2 separate regions of the Homo sapiens genome follow, and region 2 is linked to region 1. Evidence: promoter capture Hi-C in human tissues and cell types (Jung and others, 2019). All regions are on one chromosome and are shown on one strand. Each heading gives the region's core, a stretch centred on a gene start or on the middle of the fragment in contact. The rest is flanking DNA. Distances are from core to core; before and after follow the strand shown. Region 1 holds the start of TXNRD1 (thioredoxin reductase 1). Region 2 has its middle 23 kb from the start of CHST11.

Evidence for each region. The method cuts DNA at HindIII sites, captures the fragments that hold promoters and counts their contacts. A contact is called where the count stands out against the background at its distance.
Region 2: a contact is called between a fragment that was not itself captured here and the fragment with the promoter of TXNRD1 in region 1, in 2 of the 25 tissues and cell types used here (bladder and heart left ventricle).

The regions. Positions count from the first base shown.
Region 1 is chr12:104,212,753-104,219,770 of GRCh38, forward strand. TXNRD1 (thioredoxin reductase 1) reads left to right here and starts at 3,027. Exons shown (of 17, transcript NM_001093771.3): 1 at 3,027-3,141. The coding sequence starts at 3,051. RefSeq lists enhancers at 2,803-3,419, 3,420-4,035, 6,694-6,838, a silencer at 2,890-2,979 and a cis regulatory region at 6,761-6,771. The HindIII fragment of the contact is 11,252 bases long and covers 1-7,018 here.
Region 2 is chr12:104,430,823-104,437,840 of GRCh38, forward strand. No RefSeq gene overlaps it. Among named protein-coding and RNA genes, the nearest start is that of CHST11, 23 kb to the right of the region's middle. RefSeq lists an enhancer at 5,339-5,508. The HindIII fragment of the contact is 3,140 bases long and covers 2,644-5,783 here.

The DNA.
Region 1 (7,018 bases), core at 1,777-4,276:
AAGCTGTGTGATCCTGTGCAATTAATCCCCTAAGCATCAGGATTCTCCTCTGTAAAATAGGAATAATAAGAGACCCTTCTAAATGTGGCTCTTGCAGGAAAAACATGAGATAAGCATACTTTTATGCCAGTAAAGGACTTAGCAGGATGCCTGGCTCGCCGTAAGTACCCAACAAATTGTTGGCTATTATAAATATGATAGGATGACACAGGTAGGCACATGACTCTCAGATACTTTTGCCTAGGTGTTTAAAATAACAGGAAAGCCATCATCTTAGTTAAATACATGTACTAAATAGAGAAAAATACATGACAGCCACAGTTGGAATTTTGATGATAAAATGGTAATTTTAACATAAATTGAATAGCATATTTAAAAAAAAAATCTCTGAAACAGTCATTCCAGTGGAACCAAGGAACTGTAGACCTGGCTCGCAGAGGGAGGGAACTTTGCTTTTAAAGGGTCCTGGCTTAGTTGCATTAGTTACTACAGACACCAAACACTTGGATGAAGTTGTTATTAGGATTTACTTTAGGGCCGGGCACGGTGGCTCACACTTGTAATACGAGCACTTTGGGAGACTGATGCAGGTGGATCACCTGAGGTCAGGAGTTTGATACCAGATTGACCAACATGGTGATACCCTTTTTCTACTAAATACAAAAAATTAGGCAGGCATGGTGGCTGATGCCTGTAATCCCAGCTACTTGGGAGGCTGAGGCAGGAGAATCACTTGAACCTGGGAGGTGGAGGTTGCAGTGAGCCAAGATTGTGCCATTGCACTCTAGCTTGGGCAACAAGAGCAAAACTCCATCTCAAAAAAAAAAAAAAAAAAAGAAAGAGAGAGAGAGAGATTTACTTTAGCTTTGTGCAATGTCTGTTATTAAAAGCCTTTGGTGGCCGGGCACGGTGGCTCATGCCTGTAATCCCAGCACTTTGGGAGGCTGAGGTGGGTGGATCACAAGGTCAGGAGATTGAGAACATCCTGGCTAACATGGTGAAACCCCGTCTCTACTAAAAATACCAAAAAAAATTAGCGTGGTGGTGGACGCCTGTAGTCCCAGCTACTAGGGAGGCTGAGGCAGAAGAATAGCGTGAACCCGGGAGGCGGAGCTTGCAGTGAGCCGAGATCGTGCCACTGCACTCCAGTCTGGGCAACAGAGCGAGACTCCATCTCCAAAAAAAAAAAAAAAAAAAGCCTTTGGTTCAGTTTTATTTGTTTTCTGTGTTTAAGCAAATAAACACCCAGTGTTTTCCAAGAGCATTTTGACTCTGGGCTGCTCTCCAGAGAAGCAGGATATAAGCTTGTCCACAAACCCAAATGAAAACAAAGGGCCCACACAATTGCCACGCATCTGGTGACCAGACAAGTTCACTAAATCTCAGCTGGGGTGGAAGTTCCTTGAGACCAGGGAATTTGAGTCACCTTGTAACCCTAAACAAAGCCAGGCATAAGTTGGATGCTTACCATATGTTAGTTAATTGAAAGAAGGAAAAACAGAGCACTGCACTGATAGAGAACAGTGACTGTGCACCTGATGTGCCGCAATGTGGTTTGGTGTTAAAAAAAATCACTCTCATTCATTACTAGTAGGAGTTCAAATGGGAACCACAGTTCCAAAAAAGCAATTTTGGCAACGTGTAATGACAGCCTTAAAACTATAAACACAAAGATGTTCCCTGCAGCCTTATTCATAATTTTTAAAAATAAAAAACAAACTAAACATCTAATAATAGGCTATGTAATCGTCCAGTAGCTCTAGTGGATGGACTATTACATTATTATAATTATTCAAATTAATATTTTCCCGCTTCTTCCCTGCTTTCCTTCAAGAGGTGGGGGAGGCCACCTGGCCCAAGCTGAAGGCCAAGATACAAGAAAAAAATGCAAAGGTTCTATTTTGGCAGCGTTTACATGGGCAGGGTGTCGTGGGGAGGCTGGCGGAGGGAGTGGGAGCAGGTGACAGAGAATATAGGGTAAGTTAGAAGGCTCTCAGTGCTGGTAAAAATAAAATAGAGTAAAGTAAAGGGTGGGGGTAGAGTTGAGGGGGGCGTGATCAGATTTCTGTTCAAATAGGATGGTCTTTTTGCTGTGAACTTAAGACTGCTCTAAGGCCAGGCGCAGTGGCTGACGCCTGTAATCCCAGCACTTTGGGAGGCCGAGGCGGGCGGATCACAAGGTCAGGAGATCGAGACCATCCTGCCTAACACGGTGAAACCCCGTCTCTACTAAAAATACAAAAAATTAGCTGGGCATGGTGGCACACGCCTGTAGTCCCAGCTACTCGGGAGGCTGAGGCAGGAGAATCGCTTGAACTTGGGAGGCAGAGGTTGCAGTGGGCTGAGATCGCGCCACTGCACTCCAGCCTGGGTGACAGAGTGAGACTCCGTCTCAAAAAAAAAAAAAAAAAAAGACTGCTCTAAAAAATAAAGTGTATTAAAAAGAAACTACGATGTTCAGTGTATGCTTCATCTACGGTCAAAGAGGCAAAGACTGAAGTGACAGTGGAAGCCAGGTGGTTATCTGGGAGGCTTACAAGACTATGTGATAGTATGGAAAATACTAGTATTAAGTGAAATGCTGGATGCAAAACTATGCATAGAGGGGAAAAACTGGAAAGAAATAGTAAACACAGCAAAAGTAGTTTGTGTGAAGGATAAATTTTTTAAAATTATTTTTTGTAGAAACAGGGTTTCTCTACATTGCCCAGGATGGTCTCAAACTCCTGGGCTCAAGCGATCAATCCTCCCACCTCGGCCTCCCAAAGTGCACAGGTGTAAGCCACCGCGCCCAGCCGAAGGATAAGGATTTTGGGTGGTGCGCTCTTTTCTCCTTTCCATTTCTGCATTTTCCAATTTACCTTTAGCGACCGTTCTTTCCTGTTAAAAAAAAAAAATTCACGACCTTGAAGAAGATACACGGGCTATGACTTCGCTGTTGTCACCGAGCGCCCCGCCCACCGCGTTCTCCGACCCGCGGCCGGCAGGGGGCTCGCGGCCTCCGCCAGGCGTCCTTCGGCTCCGTCAGTTCCCACAGGGCCTTGTGCGACATGGGCTGCGCCGAGGGCAAGGCAGTGGCGGCGGCCGCCCCAACGGAGCTGCAGACGAAAGGCAAGAACGGCGATGGCCGCCGTAGGTCAGGTACGACCGAGGGCGAAGGCCTGGTCCCCAGGTCGACGGGCCGAAGCGGGCCTTCCGGCCGGGGTTGGGGATAAAGTGCCCCGGAGCCCTGGCCTTGAAGCCCCTCACTGGAGTCAGTGACTGACCGCGCGCCACGCTGGAGACCCCAGAAACGCTCCCCCAGGTCACCCCGGGAGACGGAGGCCGGCGGCCGGCCGAGGGCTGCCCCGCCCGCTGGCTGTGAGAGAGGTGGGAGGTGGAAGGAGGAGCGGGCCCGCCGCGAGGACCTGCCCGGAAACCTGTCGGAAACCGAACCGAGATCTCGGCAGCGACCCGCCTGATTTCGCTCAGGGCCCGTTAGGGCGTCCTCTTCCTACAAGCACCGTGTTTCCAATGAAAGGTTACGGGGGAAGCGACCAAACCGACAGCCGAGTCCGGGGGTGCCCCTTCACCTCTCCAGAAGCCCCCGGCCCACTCCCAGCATCCTCCTCCATCGAGAATCTTGTCCGACACGCCTTCCCGGCCCCCTTTCTCCATCCCCTTGAATTTTGGGCACATTTCTCCCACCATCATCCCGCTTTATCCTTTCACTTGTTCTTCCAGAAGAGAAAGCTCCCAGTCTCTTCTCCATTGTCCGGATAATGCCAATAATGGCTAGTGGTTACTAAGCACTGACATGAGAGGGGCCTTTGGAAGCACTAGACATGGGTAATAATCTTGGTTCATGTTTCCAGCCATACTGAGAGATTTATCATAAACCCCATTATACAGATGAAGAAACTGAGAAGCAAAGAGGTTATAAAACTTACCCAAAGCACACAACTAGTAAGTGGAAGAGCTGGGATACCAGTTGAGGCCATCTGACTCAAAAGCCCTGGTCATAGTCATATGGCCGCCTCCACCTTTTTTATAGGCTTGAGAAAGTGAGGCTCCAAAAAGTGCCTTGCCCAATGGCTAGAATTATTAAATGCTGTAGGATCTGCCTCTTTCAAAGGCTTACAGTTTAGTTACAAGGCAGCATATGGTGAAGGGCTAAAAGGAGTGGTAAAAACAGCCAAGTGGGGATGGCAGCTCCCATAGATGAGGTAGGATTTGGTAGAGGTGTCTGAAGGGAGAACATTCTTGTTAGGGGAAGCAGCCGGTGAGACCATGCTAGAGATAGGGAGGCCTGTATATCCTGCTGGAGTTAAGGACTTGGATTAGGGGAAGGGAAGAATAAAGGAACAGGGTAGGAGCAAGGTCAGGCAAGGTCCAGGTCAGGCAGCTAATTTGTGGCCATTAGTACAATGAAGGAGTTTGAGCAGGTGCATCCCAAATTGACGTTTCATGTGCCATCCTCAGGATCTTCTTGATATCTATGTCCTTCCATTTATTTACTGTTTTTCTTTAGCTACATTCTTTTTGTGTGTGGTTAAAAAAAAAAAATTTACCATCTTAACAATTTTGTTTTTTTTTTTTTTTTAGTTTCGCTCTCGTTGCCCAGGCTGGGGTGCAATGGCGCCATCTTGGCTCACCTCAGCCTCCACCTCCCAGGTTGAAGCGATTCTCCTGCCTCAGCCTCCCAAGTAGCTGGGATTACAGGCATGCACCACCACGCCTGGCTAATTTTGTATTTTTAATAGAGACAGGTTTTCACCATGTTGGTCAGGCTGGTCTTGAACTCCTGACCTCAGGTGATCTGCCCACCTCAGCTCCCCAAAGTGCTGGGATTACAGGCATGAGCCACTGCACCCAGCTGACCCTAACCGTTTTTAAGTATACAGTTTTCAGCAGTATTAAGTATATTCACATTGTTGTGAAGCAGATCCCCTGAACTTTTTCATCTTGCAAATCTGAAACTCCATGCCAACTCGTTAACTTTTCATTTGCCGTTTCCCCCAGCCCCTGGTATCCATCATTCTACTTTCTGTTTCTGTGAAATTTGGCTACTTTAGATTGCTTATATAAGTTGGTATCATACAGTGTCTGTCTTTTTGTGACTGGCTTGTTTCACTTAGCATACTTGTCTTCGAGTTTCATCTGTATTGTAGCATGCGACAGGATTTCCTTACTTTTTAAGGCTGAATAATATTCCATTGTGTGTGTGTATATGTACATACACACACACATATATACACACACACACACACAAAATGGAATATATATACACACACACACCACATTTTTTTTTTCCCGAGATGGAGTCTTGCTCTATCGCCAGGCTGGAGTGCCGTGGCATGATCTTGGCTCACCACAATCTCCGCCTCCTGGGTTCAAGCAATTCTCCTCCCTCAGTCTCCCAAATAGCTGGGATTACAGGCCCGCCACCATGCCCAGCTAATCTTTGTATTTTTAGTAGTGACGGGGTTTCACCATGTTGGCCAGGCTGGTCTTGAACTCTTGACCTCGTGATCTTCCCGCCTCAGCCTCCCAAAGTGCTGGGATTACAGGCTTGAGCCACCACGCCCGGCCTGAACTATTTTATAATACAGAAAAGCTCACTCGTTATAATACAACTTGCTAAATTTTTACAAACGAAGTATATGCATGCAGCCCACACTCAGCTGAGGAAATAAACGTTTCCAGTACCCCAGGAGCCCCTCTAATGTCTCTTACCCCCATACCAAGGGCAAACACTACTCTGATTTCTAACAGCATAGAAGAATTTCACCTATTTACATTTACTTTTTGAAACTTAAATTTAGGCATATTTTAAGCATTAATCTATTAAAGCACGGCTTTATACTAGGTATTTTTCTTTTTCTTTTCTTTCTTTTTTTTTTTGAAATAGGGTCTTGCTCTGTTGCCCAGGCTGGAGTGCAGTGGCCCAATCATAGCTCATTGCAGCCTCAACCGCCTGGTCTTAAACAATCCTCCCACCTCAGCCTCCTGTGTGGTAAAGTGTGCCACCAAGCCCAGCTAATTTTTTTACATTTTGTAGAGATGAGGTCTTGCCATGTTGCCCAGGCTGGTCTCAAACTTCTGGGCTCAAGTGATCTTCCCACCTTGGCCTCCCAGAGTGCTGGGATTACAGGTGTGAGCCACTGTACCCAGCCTAGATATTTTTCTATACACATACATATATACATAATGATGATTATTATTTTTCTAGAGATGGGTCTCACTCTGTTGCCTAGATTAGAGTGCAGTGGCATGAATCATAGCTCACTGAAACTGAACTGCTGGGCTCAAGTAATCCTCCTGCCTCAGCTTCCTGAGTAGCTAGGATTACAGGGACACACCACCATGCCTAGCCTCAATTTTAAATTTTTTGTAGAGATAGGTCTCACTAAGCAACAGCCCCATCTGATCTCGAACACCTGGCCTCAAGTGATCCTCCTGCCTCAGCCTCCCAAAGTATACTGCACCAGGCCCATATTATACATAACTATTGACATTAAAAATGTTCTTTTGTGTGTCACCTACAAACACTCTAGAAGCCACCTTCCTTAAGTACCATATGATCTCTAAGTTCCTTCTCAAATTAAAATTATGTGGTTAAGTTTCAAGAAACTAATTTCTTAATGATGCAGAAGGTTTTGCTTGAATGACTCTTCAACCGAGCATCTATTATTTATCAGGCACTGGGAACTCAGGGATAAACAAGGCATGATCTCAGTCCTTGAACATAGAGTCTCGTGGAGAAGAATGGCGTAGAAAATGCAGTGTCATGATGTGTAATCATAAAAGTAGATGGGTACACACCACTTCAGGAGAATGGCAGAGGGAGTTAACATCTTGGCACTTAGCATTTAGTATTTCTTCTGTAACACACATTCCATTCTATTTTAATGAGCTTGCAAACATTTTTCCTGCTGGATTTTTGAGGATCAGGAATGTGTTTTGTTCACTATCTTATCTCCTACAGTCCTTGGCATACTGCCCTACAAATCAGTAAATGTGTTTATATGACTCATAT
Region 2 (7,018 bases), core at 2,964-5,463, 220 kb after region 1:
AGTGAGTAAATTGCCAGGACAAGATGCAGTATGAGGGATTGGAAAGGTTTCACTCTCAGGGAATACAATATCAATCAATGTATTGATGGGATGTCGCATGATGCTGAAGAGGTTCATGCAATAAACTGAAAAGCAGTATCTTCTCTGTCTAGGTTGATGTGTCAACAGATTTTGCCAATACACGTCTTAGTATTTGTAAGGCTTATAAATGATGAAACTCAAGAATACATTTTCTGCTGCAAAGAGCTGCCCAAAACAAATATATATACTTGTTTTGGGCAGCTCTTTGCAGTAGAAAACATATTTTCAATATATATTTTCTATGTTTTGCATATTATTATTTTTCTATTAAAGCTTTATTGAGGTATAACTGATATACAATAAACTGCATAATTTGATGAGTTTTGATATAATCGTACATCTGCAAAACCATCACCACAGTCAAGATAATGAACATACTTATCACCTCCAAAAGCTTCCTCATGCCCTTGTATATATAATCCATTTCTCTCTACACCCCACCCTTGTTCCCAGTCATTGATCTGCTTTCTGCTACTATAGATTAGTTTGCATTTTCTAGAATTTAATATAATGCAATCATATGTACAGTCATGCATCACATAATGACATTTCAATCAATGATGGACTGCATATATATGACAGTGGTTCCATAAGATTTTAATACTGTATTTTTCCTGTGCCTTTTCTATGTTTAGATATGTTTAGATACACAAATACTTACCATTGTGTTAAAATTGCCTACTGTATTCAGTAGTCACGTGCTGTACAGTTTTGTAGTCTGGGAGCAGTAGACTGTCTCAGATAGCCTAGGTGTAGTAGGCTGTATCACGTAGCCTAGGTCTACACCTAGGTCTACACCTAGGCTGCGTGATACAGCCTATTGCTCCCAGGCTAGACCATCTTGGTTTGTGTAAGTACACTCTATGATGTTCATACAATAATGAAATTGCCTAACTATACACTTCTTAGAATGTATCCCTGTCATTGAGTGACCCATGACTGTATCCTTTTGTATCTGGGGTGAGGAAGTAGGACTTCTTGTGGAATGCTCACTCTTGAGACCCAGCTGCCATGCAAAGCCCAAGTTAGCTGTGTGGAGCGGTCACGTGGAGAGAGCCAAGCCCAGGTTAGCTGTGTGGAGAAGGCACGTGGAGAGAGCCTTCCAACCATCCCCACCATGGTGCCAGACATATGAGCAAAGCCATGCTGAATGTTCCAGCCCTGGCTGCCACCTCACTGAAGCCATACAAAACACTTTGGGTAAGAGCAGCAGAAATGAGCCAGCTGGTCAACCCACAGAATTGTGAGATGTAATACAATGGTTGTCATTTTAGCCATTACATTTTGGAATGGTTGGTTATCCAGCGACAGATAACTGAGCAATCTAATATTCAACCCCTGTCGGAAGTTCCCAGGATAATGAAAGTAACCTTATTGTAGAGCTACATCTGCCCTTTTCTGGTCTTTGGGCACTTTGTTCCCACGACTGAAGAGGAAAAAGTGAGCCTCTGCCTCGCTCTCTAGTCCTGCAGCCAATAGCCAGACTCTTCTGAGCCCAGCCAGACCCATCTCCGTTATGCCTAGAGCAGAGTTGGGGGCTTCTGTGGCTCAGGGGTGTGGACTCACATTCGCCTCTGCACCCCTACCTCAGAAGCATTTGGTGCCTGCACCCTGTCACCCCCTCCTGCCTTTTCTCCTGCTCTCAGGTTCATTGTAAAAACCACCCGTGACTTGTTAAGCTACAGATTCCTGGGCTATGCTGCCACAGATGCTGTTTCAGTCAGTCTAGGGCTTGGCTGAGGAGGATATGAAGTTTTCCACTGCAGATGACTGTGACATAGGACAATGATGGGATGATGTTCAGACCGTGTTTTCAGAAACTCTGCCCCGGATTCACAAGGCTTTTCTGGTGTTCAAGGGACATTTCTTTGTTGTGAGTTGTTCTTGATAAGTGAGAGTGAGCATGCATGAGAATGTGTGTGAGCACGTGTATGTGTAAGCATGGGGTGGAAGTGAATATGAGTGTGACTGAGCATGTGTGTGCATGTATGAACATATGACTATAGTGTATGAGGAGGAGGTGGGACAGGGCAGCAGTCCTGGGGTAGGACACAGGGTTGGGTGTCATTGGCAGGAAGACACAAGCCCAGGATGGGGTGTAGGTGCCTGGCGAGGACGAGAAGGGCTGGGGGGATTGCACCAAATGACAAGGGAACTGAGAAGGGAGTCGGTGAGCTATAGGACAATGTGTTCCCCACAACTGTGGCCAGCAGCTCCAAGCAGCTGCTCCGCCTTCCTTCCCTAAAAACACAAGCGCCTGTGGTCAGTCTGAGTCCAGGAGCCTCATGTTATGAAAAGGTATCCTGTGCAGGGTAATGGAAAAAAAGGGCAAAGAAAGACAGATGGACCTGGGAAAGGATCTGGGCCGCGCTGGAGCTTGGCAGGCAGCTTGGCCCTCCCATGGCATATGGCCATGCGGGCAAACTGCATTAGCTTTGGTGCTGGATGGGCCCAGCGGTGGGGGATTTTGCCCTTATTTTTCTACTGCCCCTGTTTAAGGTGGACTCCTGGTGCTTGAGGTGCACCTGTGTTGCGGCGTGCTTTAAAAAATTATCCGCTCCCGTTTGGAAAGTGAAAGACATAATAATAGTAATAATAACAACTGTTAGTGTTTATGGAGGAGAGTCCACCATTCCAGACATCATGCTAAGTGCTTTTGGGGCATTCGCTCATTTAAATTTCAACCTGGGTGATCACAGACATCTTCTGGAATACTGATCCTGAAACCAATTTTAAAGCAAAGTATAGACATCCCCACTTAAAATATAAAACTTTTAAACAGAAATATAACATAGAGAAAAATGCACGAACCGTAAGTGTGCCCCTCAATGAGTTATCACAGGGGAGCACACCTGTGTGACCAGGTGAGCCTGCTCAGCTCCCTGGAAGCCACCCTGGGATCCTGCACAACCTCTAACCCCCTCCTCCTTCCCAAAGGTAATTGCTGACTTGGTACATCATGGGTTAGATTTGCCTGTTTATGGCCGGGCACAGTGGCTCAGGCCTGTAATCCCAGCACTTTGGGAGGCTGAGACAAGTAGATCACTTGAGGTCAGGAGTTCGAGACCAGCCTGGCCAACATGGTGAAATCCCATCTCTACTAAAAATACAAAAATTAACCAGGCATGGTGGCGCATGCCTGTAATCCCAGCTACTTGGGAGGTTGGGCAGGAGAATTGCTTGAACCTGGGAGGGAGAGGTTGCAGTGAGCCAAGATCAGGTCACTGCACTCCAGCCTGGGCAACAGAGCAAGACTCTATCTAAAAAAAAAAAAAAAAAAAGATTTGCCTGCTTATAAACTTCACATGCTTGAACCATAGCCTGTGTAATTTTTTGTGGCTGCTTCTTTCCTCCACATGGTGCTTGTGAGATTCATTCTTGTGGTTGCCTGTGACAGTTTTTCCTTCATTTTCTTTCCTGTATAGTATTCCATTGTGTGACTATACCACCCTTTTTTTTTTTTTGGAGACAGGGTCTCACTGTGTTGCCCAGGGTCACTGCAGCCTTCGCCTCCCAGGTTCTATCAATCCTCCCACATCAGCCTCCTGAGTGGCTGGGACTACAGGCATGCACCACCACACCTGGCTAATTTTTTTTTTCTTTCTTTCTTTCTTTTTTTTTTTTTTTTAGAGATGTGATTTCTCCATGTAACCCAGGCTGGTCTCAAACTCCTGTGCTCAAGTAATCTACCTGCCTCGGCCTCACAAAGTGCTGGGATTACAGGCTTGAGCCACTGTGCCTGGACTGCACCACATTTTATTTATCCATTCTGGAGTTGACAGAGGATTTTTTTTTTTCCTCCTGGTTTGGGTAGCTCCACTTTTTACCATTTTACTATTATTTTATGTCTGTGTGCAGCTCACAGTCAAAAGTGCTGGATTCATGTCCTGGATACTCTACTTACCAGCTCTGTGAACCTTGGGAAAACTAGCCTTTCTGAGTCTCATTTGTCTCTGCAAACAATAATGCCTAATTTCCCTTGGTTTCCTATTCAATCAGCAAGCGTTTATTGGTCACCTGCTATGTGCCATCATTCTAGGAGATTTAGCAGTGACCGACACAAAGATCCCTGCTCCACACGTTTGTACCTTTGTCCCTTCAGTTCCCTTTCTTTGGGAAGCTCTTTCTTCCCAGATCCATCCTTCTTCTTCCTTACTCCCACCCACATTTTTGCTTCTTTATTTTCTGCTCATCCTTCTAGACTGAAGTCTGACATCCTTTCCTTTCCTCTAGGAAGCCTTACATGGCCCCTGGCAGAGCACTGGCCACTGTTTACTGAAATGTTGGGGGCTTGGTCTGCACACCTGTCTCCCCCGTGATCTGTGAGCTTCCTCAGGGCAAGGGCTGATTTCCTGCACCTTTGGCATCTGCAGTGCCTATCCCAGGGTTAAGCTCAGGGTAAAGTCTTAGTACAAGTTAAGAACTTTTGTTTTAGCCAAATAAGCCAGTGTGATGGCCACTCAGGTCATACCTGCTGAGTTAGCACATCAAGACGGTAGTCCTGCCCCTGAAACCAGAACTTATTCCAGGTGGTTTTCAGGGGGTTCAGCCACATTACGGGGGTGATTAGGTATAAGGAGCCCTGGAGTTCTTCGGGCCAAAAAACTTGCTCTCTCCAAGCCTCTATTTTGTCAGTTAAATGGCTACCTTTTCAAGGTTATCTGGGAGACTTAGAGAAAGTATACTCGAAGTGCCTGGCGTCTAAGAATAACGATTTCATTGACTGAAAGCTTATTATATATTCAGCTTAAAAGGCACTTTACATATTTTAACTAATTTAATCAACACAACAGCCTGTGATGAAGGAGCTGTCACTATTTGTGTCAACTTACAAATGTGGAAACTGAGGCACTGAGTGTTTAAGGGACTTGCCTAATGCTACACTGACACAGCCAGTAAGTGGTAGAACTAGGAAGGAGACTGGTCTTGACTGCTACAGCCCACCTTGCCCAGGAGCTGCAGCCGCCACCCAGAGACCCAGCTCAGAAACTTCCAGACAGCATGGTAGCACAAAAGGCTGCAAAAACCTTCCTGATCTTTCTCTTCCCCTTTCCTTTAGGGCCAGTTCAGGCAGTGAAGTCGGAGCTTCCTTTGAAGTCTTCTCCCTCCTCTCCTGATGAGGCCTCAGGGAAAATGAGTCCTTTCCTTATCTCAGCAGCAAAGAAATTGTCCAAAGACAGCAGTAGCATCTCCGTGGGAAGCTCAGGAATACTAATGATAAAACAAATTGATAAATTCAATTTCAAATGTGTTGATGAGAAAAACTAATTGATAAGCTCATTCATTTATTTAACAAGTATTTATGGAGTACCAACTCTATGCCAGTGTGGAGAATTAACTCTAAACAAAACAGCTGAGGTCCCTGGCCTGATGAAGCTTATGTTCTTGAGTTGGGATGTTACCAGAGGCGAATCTGTAGGGGTCTGCAGCAACCTCAGTTCTTGCCTCTTTAGAAGAAAGAATTTGACCAAGGGGCAGACAGTAAAAGGAGAGACTGAGGCAAGTTTTAGAGCAGGAGTGAAAGTTTATTGAAAAGCTTTGCTGGCCGGGCGCGGTTGCTCACACCTGCAATCCCAGCACTTTGGAAGGCTGAGGCAGGCGGATCACCTGAGGTCAGGAGTTCAAGACCAGCCTGGCCAAAATGGTGAAACCCTGTCTCTACCAAAAATACAAAAATTAGCTGGGCGTGGTGGCATGCACCTGTAATCCCAGCCACTTGGGAGGCTGAGAGGCAGGAGAATCGCTTGAACCCGGGAGGCAGAGGTTGCAGTGAGCCGAGATCATGCCCGTGCACTCCAGCCTGGGCGACAGAGTGAGACTCTGTCTCAAAAAAAAAAAAAAAAAAAAAAAAAAAAAAAAAAAAAAAAAGCTTCACTGCAGAAACAAAAGGAAGGAAAGTATACTTGGAAGAGGATTAAGTGGGTGACTTAAAAGACAAGTTTGACCTTTCGACTTGGGGTTTTATATGTGGGCATGCTTCTGGGGTCTTACGTCTCTTCTTTCCTGATTCTCCCCTTGGGATGGGCTGTCCTGTCCGCATGAGCAGTGGCTGCCAGTGCTTGGGAGTGGAGCATGCGCAGTGTGTTTACTGGAGTTGTACCCATGCTCACTCGAGACGTTCTTCCCTTACCAGCCCAATGTCCCTTAGGAGGTCATATTCCAGTTAAACTCCACCACTTTACCTCTTAGGGCACATGTGTGAGCCCACTCACCCAACTGCTAAGATCTTACCAGGAAGCTACTGATCACCAGTTTCAGGTTTTTCCCTTTGATAGGACGACTGCGTTTCCCTGGCACTGGCTGGACCAATTATTATTTTAGAGAGACAGTTAAGAACCACCTGACCATCACCTGATGGTCCCCTGACATTCCTGGTGGTGGGTGGGGGGCCTTTCCTGCCCTGTTCATGTCTGACTAGCTACCTACTGTAACAGTATAAATATCTTTTTGACACTTTCATTTACAGGAAAGAAAATGCAAGAATGCTTGGAAAAAAAAAGACCCAAATACCAAAATTTGGACAAACTAAACAAGTAAAAGAAGAAGTGGCAGAAAGAAAACTTAGACTTCTTGAAATAATTAATGAAAGGATGTTTTGAAATAGCAAGTTTGTCCAGTATAGGTATAATGAAATTTGATTTACCAAAATTCCATTTTTTTCCAAGAATTTGTGGTATAACATGAAGCTTACCTTTCACAGCCAAGGCAAGGTCATCCCCCCCTTGGAGGACATGGTGCTGCTGATGACTCTTGAGACATCTCAACCTACAGTGGCTTCAAAACTTATGCCTTCAGCTCTGCCTCCTCCCCACTCCCAAGCTTCAAACTCAAATATTCAGCTGCCTGCCTGTCTATAGATCCTCTTGGATGTATAATAGCATCTCAGCTCCAGCATAACCAAAAGATAACTCTTGATTTTCACCCAAATCTTGTTTTT